3 separate regions of the Homo sapiens genome follow, and regions 1 and 3 are each linked to region 2. Evidence: promoter capture Hi-C in human tissues and cell types (Jung and others, 2019). All regions are on one chromosome and are shown on one strand. The core of a region is centred on a gene start or on the middle of the fragment in contact, and the rest is flanking DNA. Distances in the headings are between cores, read along the strand shown.

Region 1 (3,758 bases), core at 212-2,711, 400 kb before region 2:
CACACACACACACACACAAACAAACACACACACACACACACACACACTTGAATAGTGTTCTTTGGAAATTTAGAAATGTTTTAGTCTAAAGATATGAACATTCAGGAAAATGTTAATTTTTCCAAAGCCCCAATTTCTCACTATTAAAATATGTTAGCTTTCATATAGTATAATTTCACAGATTATTATAAGCACAGCTTGTGTGTGCATGTGTATATACGAACACACATATATATAAAATAACATTTCATTCTCAAATACTATTTTAAAGGCAGAAAAGTTCTGTCAAGAAAATTAGAAAATTAAAGCATACTGGGAATCTAACTAAATTAATGAACACCAAATTGCAACTCTAAGCTGATAATCTTTCATGGCGTAGAAAAGAGACCAACAAGTGAATAATTATCACAGTGAAAATAAGTGACCAACCATGCCAAATGCTCATGCAAATAAAAGAAAAAAATCTTTCCTTGTGTTAGATAAGCACAAAGCTAAGAATTGCCATTGTTAAAGCAAAATGATGAAATGACTCAGGAAAATTAAGAATAGCGTATATATATTATTACAATCTTAATTTAACTGTTTTAATCTCATTCTGTTTACGAAACTTTAACACTAAGCTAAAGAATGAAATAAAGCTGTTCTTAACCATATAAGAACAGCACATTTACTAATGTTGTATTAAGTTAATATTATTGAGATTAAAACACGGGTTATGTATACACATACACACAAAGCTATTAACAAAATCAGGAAATCTGGGGTATGTTAAAGCTGTGACTGCTAAGTGTTATTAGGCAAAAAGGAATGAAATTGGATTTAATGTTATTAGGTAAAAAGGAATGAAATTGGATTTAAAATGCAAGAAACATTTGCCAATTTTATCAATTAACCCAGGTGAAGCTATACAAACAAGATTAACAAATGATACTTTCTCTTCAACTCTACTTCAAATCTTTCAGGTTCCAAAATTTGGAAAATCAGTATACTTTCTATATGTGAACACCCATCAGCCTAAAATAAGAAGTAATCTGTATAAATGCATGGAGATATACAGAAACTCAATTCTGTAAGAATTCAGATTATATGGGAACTATAAAGATACCTCAGAATACTTCCATTTGTCTATCATCTACTTCCCTTGATATAAACTTTCTCTTCCACTCAACCCCCCTCACAATGTTAAAAGATCTCATTTTTGACAGAGTACCCAAAGAATTGGGTGTGTAAGTTTGAAACCATTAACATCTCCTATCATAGAAGTACACTTGTTTTCCAAAAAATTAAGCTTGTGATTCCAGAGTCTAATGTCTTCCTTGGTAGGTGCATAATAAATTCTCTCTTCATCTTTTTACTTGCATTGTCCCTGATATTTGAAACATTCTACTAGCTCACATTTTGCAGATTCCACATCTTCAGAATTTTAATTTAAAATCAATCAATGTTCCCCAGGTATGCAATCAAAGAATAACTCATGTCATCTTCAATACATATGGTATTCATCCTCATTCAACCATTAAGGTTATAAGTATTTATCTTTCTGTAGTTTGGCAGTTCTAGTCAAAGTAACAGGATTATTACAGCTATAGTTGCTTCATCCTTTTATAACTATATTTATCCTTATCTCTCCACTAGATTAATGCATACGGAACATAAATGCATGGGCTTTGGAATCATATCAACTGGTGTTCCAATACCAGCTCCACTACTTTCTACTTGTGATCCTGGGTGAGTGGCTATCTTTACTCATTGCAAAAATGAGAATTATAATATGCTTAACATCACAGGGTCACAATGAGGATTAAATGAGATAATTAAGGCAAGGAGCATATATATGTTAGAAATTATTTTAAACAGAATGATCATATCAAATGCAAAGAACTAAAATTAAGCATCCACAAATGTGTAAAGCATCAACAAACTGTGAAAACCTACTATGAGCAAAGTGTAATTTTTAATGCTTAGGAAGAAACAAATGTGAGTGAGAAGGGATCCTGAATGAGTCCTTATCCTTAAGTAGCTTAAAAACAGAAATAAGAGGTACATAAACACAAATGGGCTGAAGGCAAGAAAAACAAATATTATGGGTAGCTGGAGAAAGAAGTAAGCCTTCTCTACTTCTACAGATTAAGTGCTGCCTGAGAAGGAAGAGAGAAAGCTATTCTCCCCAGTACATATCTGTTTTCCACCCTCAATTCTCTGCTTTACCTATATCAACTATTCATTAGTTCACATACATAGCATGTCCCCATAACTCTGAACATTTGATTCTCTGTCTAGAAATTCCTTTACTGTTTCCTGGCAACTTTTCTTCAAGTCCTCCTCAAATGTCACTTAAGTGAAGCCATTCCACAACTTATCACAATGCAATTTAATTATGTGAATATGGTATGTCTACCACATTACATGGTGAGTACTCCAAGGATCAGAACTTCACCCCATGTTATTTACTCTGTATCCCTCCCCTCTGCATCTCCACCCAATGCCTACTTTCCAGCTTAGTATTTATTACTAACAAGAATGCAAATAAGAATTCTACGAATAAGAACTCAAATATTTACTAAATGAGCAATTAATGAATTAATGACTATAGCAAAAATGGAAAATAAAGAGAAGATCACCAACCAATTTTTGAGTCTGGACAACTTAAGATTAGAAAAAAATGGAAGTGAAACCATTCTAGATAAATTAGACAACAAAACAAAGACTCTTAAGACATAAAACTGGAAAGCATGTTCTCAGCCGGGTGCAGTGGCTCACGTCTTTAATCCCAGTCTGTAATCCCAGCACTGTGGGAAGCCAAGGTAGGTGGATCACTTGAGGCCAGGAGTTCGAGAGCAGCCTGGCCAACATGGTAAAACCCTGCCCGTCTCTACTAAAAATACAAAAATTAGCTGGGTGTGGTGGTGTATGCCTGTAATACCAGCTACTTGGGAGGCTGAGACATAAGAATCGCTTGAACCTGGGAGGTGGAGGTTGCAGTGAGCCAAGATCGTGCCACTGAACTCCAGCTTGGGTGGCAGGGCAAGGTGCTGTAAAAACAAACAAACAAACAAAAAACAAAACAAAAAACAACAACAAAAATAACAAAAAAAAAAAGGAAAAGTGTTCTAAAAAGGGCAAAAAGTTCTACATAATTGATAATGAATGCCTCACAGAGGATCTGAACCCTTCATCTATTTAGCTCTATCTTTCCCATTGACTTAAAAATTATTTTGGAAACGATACAGTCATAATATGAATGTCTAATGTTATTTTGTCTCTCAACTAGAGCATTACTAAAAACAGTTAAAGTCACTTTGAACTAAATTAGGATATGAATATTTTTCAGTCAAATATGGTGTTTAAATAGAAAGACTGATAGATCCAAATTGAGCTAAAGTTCATACTTAACGATGAATACACGAATTCTAAAACATGAGTAAACAAGACAGCATGACAAGATCACTTTAAGGATTATCTAAAATGGGTAATTATAGTAATCTTATTTTTAAAAATAATTCATCCAACATTCAGTCAGTGTTCAAACTTCCAATCTCTGCCCCCATTCCTCTCTCTATAGTTTGTTTGAGTTGGGATCCAAATAACGTGCACACATTGATGTCAATACAAAATTGTTTTAACTAGAAAAGGTTGAAGAGATAGACACAAACAGTGCTGAAGGCAACTTTTCAGTACTTTCACTTCTTTTTAAGTTAGCAGCATTGGTGTTTGAATACTTCTAATTTGATTTCATATCTCCCAGCTTTCATTTTTTT
Region 2 (3,824 bases), core at 316-2,815:
CTTTAAAGCCTCTTTGGCTCTTAGGGAAGGTGTGTTTCAAAACCTGTAACAGGAGTCCCCGCCTAGAATGGCTCTTCAGTGTTACTCCTTCCTCCCAGCGGAAGCAGCCTTTGTTTTTTGTTGGGTTTTTTTTGTTTTTTTTGTCTGTTTGTTTTGTTTTTTGAGATAGGGTCTCACTCTGTCACCCATACTGGAATGCGGTGGTGTGATCACAGCTCACTGTGGCTTGGTCCTCCCATGCTCAAGAGACTCTCTTTGCCTCAGCCTCCTGAGTAACTGGGACCAAAGACATGCACTACCACACCCAGCTGATTTTTTTATTTTTAGTAGAGATGAGATCTTCTCTTACTGTGTTGCCCAGTTTGTCTCGAACTTCTTGGCTCAAGTGATCCTCCCACCTTGGCCTCCCAAAGTGCAAGTGAAAGCCACTGCAACTGGCCAGAAGCAGCCTTTGATGTTGGGTCTACTGCTGCCCTCAGCATTGAAAGAAGTTTCAACCATCCTTTTCACATTTTTTTTTTTTTTCTGAGACAGTCTCACTCTGTTGCCTAGGCTAGAGTGCAGTGGTGTGATCTTGGCTCACTGTAACCTCCACTTCCCTGGTTCAAGTGATTCTCCTGCCTCCTCCTGCCAGAGTGGATGAATGGTTCTTCTTCTTCTTGACCATCTAATCATTGTCCACTCAGACTTTAAAACTCTGCATCAACATCACCTTCCAGGTTCTTCCTTCTCTCCACTATGCGATGCCTGGCATTGAAAATTTCTGTATATGACTTTATCATGGTGTGTTATAGTTATTTAATATAGCTGGGGTTACAGGTGTGTGCCATCACGCCCAGCTAATTTTTATATTTTTAGTAGAGATCAGGTTTTACCATGTTGGCCAGGCTGATCTTGAACTGCTGACCTCAGGTGATCCGCCTGCTTCCACCGCCCAAAGTCCTGGGATTACAGATGTGAGCCACCACGCCTGGCCCCTTTTCACATTTTTTTATACATGGATAAATAAGATAGAGATTAGAATTCTTACATGCTAGGTGTATTTTCCCTCTGATAGTTTTACAAAATAGTCTAGGTGTAGAATGTGTGGAACAGACTTCTTTTGTGTTTTCTAATCCTAGGGTTCCTGGGTTTCTGAGAATTTGTTTGTCTTGAAGATTCCTTTAAGCCATATACTCCTTGCATGCTTGTCTGTGCCCCTGCCTTCCAGGTACTATGGGTGTATGGGGGTTCCTTCTATCTTGAGTTTTCAATTTTATTTTTTGAAAGAGAATACAAAATAGGTTGGGTCCTATGCCACCTTGTCAGTGATATGGTTGTGCATACTGTTGATATCAGTTAAAAGGGTGATCACAGGAGCATATATATATATATGTTTTTTTTTTTTTTGCATAAGGCCATAAGTTAAACAAAGAATTCAAACAAAGACAGTAGGTATATGAGTGAGAATGCTTTAATTGAACTGGTATTTGTACAAGGTGACACCCTGTTGCATACCACACACCTCCTCCCTGAGTGACTCAGCCGCTGAGCAAGAAACCTCTGAACTGTTCACTAATACAGTCAGGTAGAGGTTGAGACTCCACTGAATAAACTCTAGGTTCCCATTTCTTTCAGCCAGATCCTCCCAGGGAATCACTACAGGCTGGTTAGCCAAAAAGTCCTGATTTTCTGCTCAATAGAGGTAAGTTGAATTATACTTGCAAACAGAAATACATCTGCTGTATGTGCACAGCTTTCTCTGTGTTCCTTACAAATGATTAAAATTAGAACTTACTGTATTATCTTTGTCTTTTCTTCCTGTAAATTTTGACAGCCTCCAGCTGGCTGTTAGCTCTGCTCTTCCTTGCTGTACTTTTAGGTCACATTGCATTGAACTTCTTGGCAATTTTACACGTTATGGGCATCACAGAAACGAGCACCTATTTGATTTTCTGGGTGGGAGCTGTCAGCTGGTGAATCCTGCCACACAAAGGATAATAAATTCTTTAAGTGAAGGGACCAGCACCTGCTGGTTTATTTTCTCAAGCGACTATACAAACATTTTTTAAAGGATCTTTCTGTTTTCATAAATGATGCTTTTAGTGAAATAGTGAACTCAAATATTGCTTTATAGTTAATAAGTCATATTTATTTTTTTCTCTACTGCTAAAAATATTGCAAGTTGCTGAGCTATGAGAGAGAGAGAGGTTTATATTTATGAGGTTTTTGTCTCCACCCTATCTTCCCCAAATAAGAAAATCACCATTTCTCACTTGAAAGTACCAAGGAGTAAAGGCAGGGTGTGGGAGCAGAATAAGGGTACATGGTTCCTCACAGGGATCTGTGGGCATCTGGCCAACTTCTCTATGGTATATTCTGCATTCTAACCTAAGGAGTGATTAATGTATATGGGGGCAATTTTCAAACTTTATTCATAGCCTAGTCCTGAAAAACCAGTTTTGGGAGACTTTTGATAAGGCTAGAAGAGTTCTTTTAACAGAGCTTTCTTTTATAATTAATAGCTAAGCTGACTTGTGTTTTTTCTCATCATTTCTATTTATGATACAGAGCTGTGGGATTCAAATGCAGGGGCCACTCACAGCTTGCAAATTGCAGCTCTGTGTCCTCCAGAGAGGTGCCCCCACAGCATACCTGGCTCTATCTGTAGTACTTGAGTTCTCATGGCTTCCTATTGCTGACAAGGTCACCTGCAGTCTGAGAGGGGGTTAGACACACCAGTGCTCATTTCCCAAAGGTTTACAGAAGAATTTTACAACTTGGCTTTCAAGTGTTTATAGTAACCAGAAAACTAAAGTGTAGCAAGTGTGGATAATTTTATTTTTCATAAAATGTGATTACATTTAAAACTGTCTTTCACTTCCATAGTTTATAACGTAGATAAAGCCTTCCTAATATATGTGGTGCTCCAGTGTTTAAAGTATTGGAAACATCAATTTGAGAAAACTGAGAAATGACAACAGTAAAAATTTTAGTAAAACATTCAGATGATCCTAAATGTCGGGATATGCATAGAATGCCAACAACAGGCCAGAATTTTTATTGGAATGTTAGCGTCGTATAAATCTTAGATCTAATTGACAGAATATTTCAACTGAAACGGAGCATAGGCCCATCTAGTCTAATGCCTGAATTTTCTAGTTGAGAAAATCAAAGCATAAATGTTAAGCAACTTGTGAAGATCAGAGTAGCAGAACCAGAGCACGATGCCAGATTGCTTGTCTTTTGTCTTACTGAATTTTCTCAATATTTTTTCAAATGCTTTTTATCATAAAATATGTAGTAGCAATAAATGAGCCACACTCCATCACAGACTGTGGTTACCCAGCACATGTGGAAATATTATAGTGTGTATGGTATGACTAAGACATAATAGAATACGTTTTCCAACTTGTGGCTTATGGAATCAGTGTTGCCGTTTATTATATTTATGAGATTTTCATCTCAGGAGCCAGTAGCCCCTCAGCAGGGAGGGGATCTGATGTATGTGTGTTAGCTGTGGTCTGTACAATCAGAACACCCTTGCCTCGAATGCCATTCTGTAGGTGATGCTTACCTGACTGCCTTCTCAGACTACCAGAATTATGATGAAATACCTGAGAGGTTCATATTCCTGGGGACTATGTAAACAAAACAAATTTTGAATGACTGAGCTCATACTGTGGAATGAACTGAACACAATTCACGAAGCCGTCAAATTAAGCAAACATTGTTTAACTGAGAGTATCTTATACGGTTCAGGCATCAACTCCCAGCATTTCTTAAGAGTGAGGGGATAAAATCTTTGGCCTTGCAGTCCAAGGGAAATCTTTATTGGTTCCATA
Region 3 (3,712 bases), core at 46-2,545, 360 kb before region 2:
AGGTGTGACTCTAGACAATTCAGCGTCTCAGTTCCATCATCTGTGAAACAGGGATAAGGAAAGTACCTACCTCCTGGGGTTACTGTGAGGACAAGGTGAAATAACACAGGTAACATACTCAAAGCATGTCCTGGCACACAGTAACTAACACCATCTCCACTAGTGTCATCCAAATGAAGATGTCAGAAGAGAGACCCGGAGTCCAGGGCTCAGAGGTCATGAAGGCTAGGGATGTAAACTTGGGAGCTATCAGAGCAGGATGGTATTTAAAACTAAAGGACTTTAACATTTTTCATTTATAAAAAATGTAAAGCTAAGGGTATTTAAAGCTTAATAGAAAACATGAAAATACTCAAAACACTGTATTTTGTATAAGATATAAAGTTTGGATGGCAGATGCTCTTAGTGGCTCTCCAGCTTTCTGAAACACGTAACTCTTACGCATAACAGAGTTTTTAATCCATAGTTTAAGAAAGAGAATAATGTACTATTTATTGTAGTGCTTATGTAACAGAAAGCTTTTCTTGACTGGGGCAAAAGACTAGACAGCTTTTGTATTTCAGCAGCAACAATGAACTACATAGCTATTTGCTGCCTGCTATTTCTATTCTATTTCTGATGGAAAGAGGAAGCAGAAAATCTATATCTAGGGAAATTATTTTATACTATCTACGTAGGCACCATCCCTAGACTCTTCATGAAGGAAAGAGAGGAAGCAGCAAGCCTCTGAAAGTGACATGGAAATTCAGTGATTTAATGCCAAGTCAGGCTGAGGACAAATGTGGTAAATGGTACTCATGACTACCTAAGACGCCAGCTTTGCCGCTACAAGAAAAATTCAGACTCAGTGAGAAATGTTTATTTAAAAGATTTTTTTAACCCAAGGGTTGTTATCATTCTTTTATTTTCCAAGGTTTACATAAGGAATGGTTTTTGTTAAAAACATTATAAGAAACACACTATTATATATTCTAGGGCCCCAGGGGGCAGGTCCAAGATTCACAGACATCAAAATATTCTGTGACTAGATAACAAGATCAAGGCAACACCACTATCTGAGTACAGTCTATCTGATCATTAGTTTGAGGTATTTTATAAAAAGAAATGAATATCCTTTAAATTTGAAATTGCAGACCAGAAATTATAGAGTGACAGCAACAGCACATATGCCCAGTACACAAACATTTCAATGATATTGAAGAAATAACAGCAAAAATATTTTAAAGCATTAACTTTTGTAGCAAACATTGAATTTATATATTAAAAAGAGATTTCTTTATATGAATTTGTACAAGTATGTGCTAAGAAGATACACTGTACAATTTAATTATAAGTATCCAGTTAGCAATTTTACCTGGTAGTAGACTGTGTATGTTCTACCACTGTAAAGTATTTCCGTTATCTCTATACATTCACCCACCTATAGTAGAGTATCTGTGGGATCTGTCCTCTGGTTTGGTTTGTGCCGTTACTGCTCAAGCTGCACGTGCTGAATGTGAATGTCACACCATCAGGGCACTGAACTGTGGTCATTCCTCCATCTCCATTGGCTGTACGGCTTCCATAGTTCCTCAAGCGCACAGCATATTTAACATTTTCCTTCATTATAAAGATGTAAAACATCTTTTATTCACAATGTACAGAGGATATATAAAAAGAACTCTAGCAGTAAAATAGGCAAATATACTGAAATTCTTTGTCATATTTACAGATGATATAATTAAATAAGTTTTTAATGAATCAAACACGATGACGGCTAACATTTACTGAACACCTGTTGCATAAAAGCAACTGTCCTAACTACTTTATGGAATTTAATTAATCCTTAAAATGACCTCATAAGGTAAGTATCATTACTATCCCTATTTTACAGATGAGGAATCTGAGGTTCAGAGAAGTTAAGTAACTTGTTCAAAGTCACGCAGCTAGTAAGTGATGGAACTAGGTCTGAACACAACCAATGTAACTAGTGCCTGCTCTTAATTTTACTGCTAGAATATTAGCCATACTATATATATATAATATATATTATATATATATAATATATATATATTTTATATATTATATATATATATTTTTTTCTGAGACAGGATCTTGCTCTGTCACCCAGCCTGGAGTGCAGTGGTGCAATTTTGGTTCAATGTGGCCTCCTCTTCCTGGGCTCAAGCAATCCTCCCACCGGTGTGTTCCATCACACTCAGTTAATTTTTTAGGGTGTTTCTGTAGAGATAAGGTCTGACTATATTGCCCAGCCTAGCCTCAAACTCCCAAGCTCAAGTGATCCTCCCTCCCTGGTGTCTCAAAAGTACTGGAATTACAGGTGTGCGCTACTGTGCCCGGCAATAAGGGATTTTAATTGCATAAGCTGATACTTTTCCTTGACTAGTTTAACTTTTAAAATAATTTTAGATGTGAGGAAAAAAATGGTGAGTCTATTATATTTTTAAGAAAAACTCAGAGATAGAAATATATAGGCAAACAGACATGAGAAAAAAAACCCATAGGAAAAAAGCTGTCCAAAATATAATGCACTGTACTTTTAAAATGTGAGCTATAGAAACTAATGCTTTATGACCCATGATATAAATTTCACAATAAAAGCTTTTTGGTTTTTCAGTATCTAAATTCTTCCTGATGAAACCTCTCGTGTACCGATCTTATCCAAAATTCTGCTCTATAATGAAATTTATTTCAGTTGAATTCAGAAATACTTTAATTTTATTTTAACATCTATAATTACTTTGATGTGGTAAAATTTCTCTATTTTGCCAAATATTGTTAGGAAATAGGCTGGGCGCGGTGGCTCACGCTTGTAATCCCAGAACTTTGGGAGGCCAAGCGGAGTGGATCACTTGAGGGCAGGAGTTCGAGACCAGCCTGGTCAACACAGTGAAACCCCTCTACTAAAAATACAAAATTAGCTGGGCATAGTGGCACGTGGCTGTAATTCCAGCTACTCGGGAGGCTGACACAGGAGAATCATTTAAACCCGGGAGGCAGAGGTTGCAGTGAGCCAAGATCACACCACTGCACTCCAGCCTGGGCGACAGAGTGAGACTCCATCTAAAAAAAAATAATAATAATAATTAAAAAAAAATAAAGAAACAAAACAAAACAAAACAAAAACACTTTTTTTTTTTTTTAAATGAGTTAGGGCACAATAAGAGAAGAAAAGACAGGAGCTAATATTTATTTTTCATATTGTGCTAGACACTAAGGCAGGTGTTTTATTTCCATTATTTAATCTCAATACTACTACAATGCAGGTATTATTCTTCCCAATCTACAGATAAGTCTCAAAGTGGTTAAATAATGATCTGCCAGTGTCTTAAAGTCAGCATGTGGAACAGCAGGTATCCAAAGCTAAGTCTGTTTGACTACAAAACTTCCTACTACTCCTGACTTTAAGAAACATTATGCAAAAATATAATATAATGTGGTACAACATTAGGTACGTAGTAGGTACTCCATAAATATTTAAGTACCATATAAAGGATAACTTACAAATAGCTATAGGTAACAAACAAAATTCATGGAATACTCTTCACTATTTTAACTACATAATAATACCTCTTATTCACAATAGAAACATTCAGTTGAAACTACCTTTAAAGGAACCACTTTGTCAAGTCTGATCTCAGCTATATCACTGGGTGAGTCATCCGTTGTGTACGTTCCTTTCACTAATTCCAGAGATGTCCATCTGTGGGAA

What was found. Contacts are between HindIII fragments. The study calls those that stand out against the background at their distance.
Region 1: a contact is called between a fragment that was not itself captured here and the fragment with the promoter of SCEL in region 2, in 4 of the 25 tissues and cell types used here (dorsolateral prefrontal cortex, lymphoblastoid cells, mesenchymal stem cells and 1 more).
Region 3: a contact is called between a fragment that was not itself captured here and the fragment with the promoter of SCEL in region 2, in 4 of the 25 tissues and cell types used here (H1 embryonic stem cells, dorsolateral prefrontal cortex, lymphoblastoid cells and 1 more).

What each region holds. Positions count from the first base shown.
Region 1 is chr13:77,131,495-77,135,252 of GRCh38, forward strand. All of the region lies in intron 52 of MYCBP2 (MYC binding protein 2), which reads right to left. Among named protein-coding and RNA genes, the nearest start is that of MYCBP2-AS2, 52 kb to the left of the region's middle. The HindIII fragment of the contact is 7,245 bases long and covers 1-3,758 here.
Region 2 is chr13:77,534,141-77,537,964 of GRCh38, forward strand. It overlaps SCEL (sciellin), which reads left to right and starts at 1,566. Exons shown (of 33, transcript NM_144777.3): 1 at 1,566-1,684. The HindIII fragment of the contact is 8,761 bases long and covers 1-3,824 here.
Region 3 is chr13:77,172,891-77,176,602 of GRCh38, forward strand. MYCBP2 (MYC binding protein 2) reads right to left here. Exons shown (of 83, transcript NM_015057.5): 36 at 3,607-3,712; 37 at 1,421-1,599. Among named protein-coding and RNA genes, the nearest start is that of MYCBP2-AS2, 94 kb to the left of the region's middle. The HindIII fragment of the contact is 3,956 bases long and covers 1-3,273 here.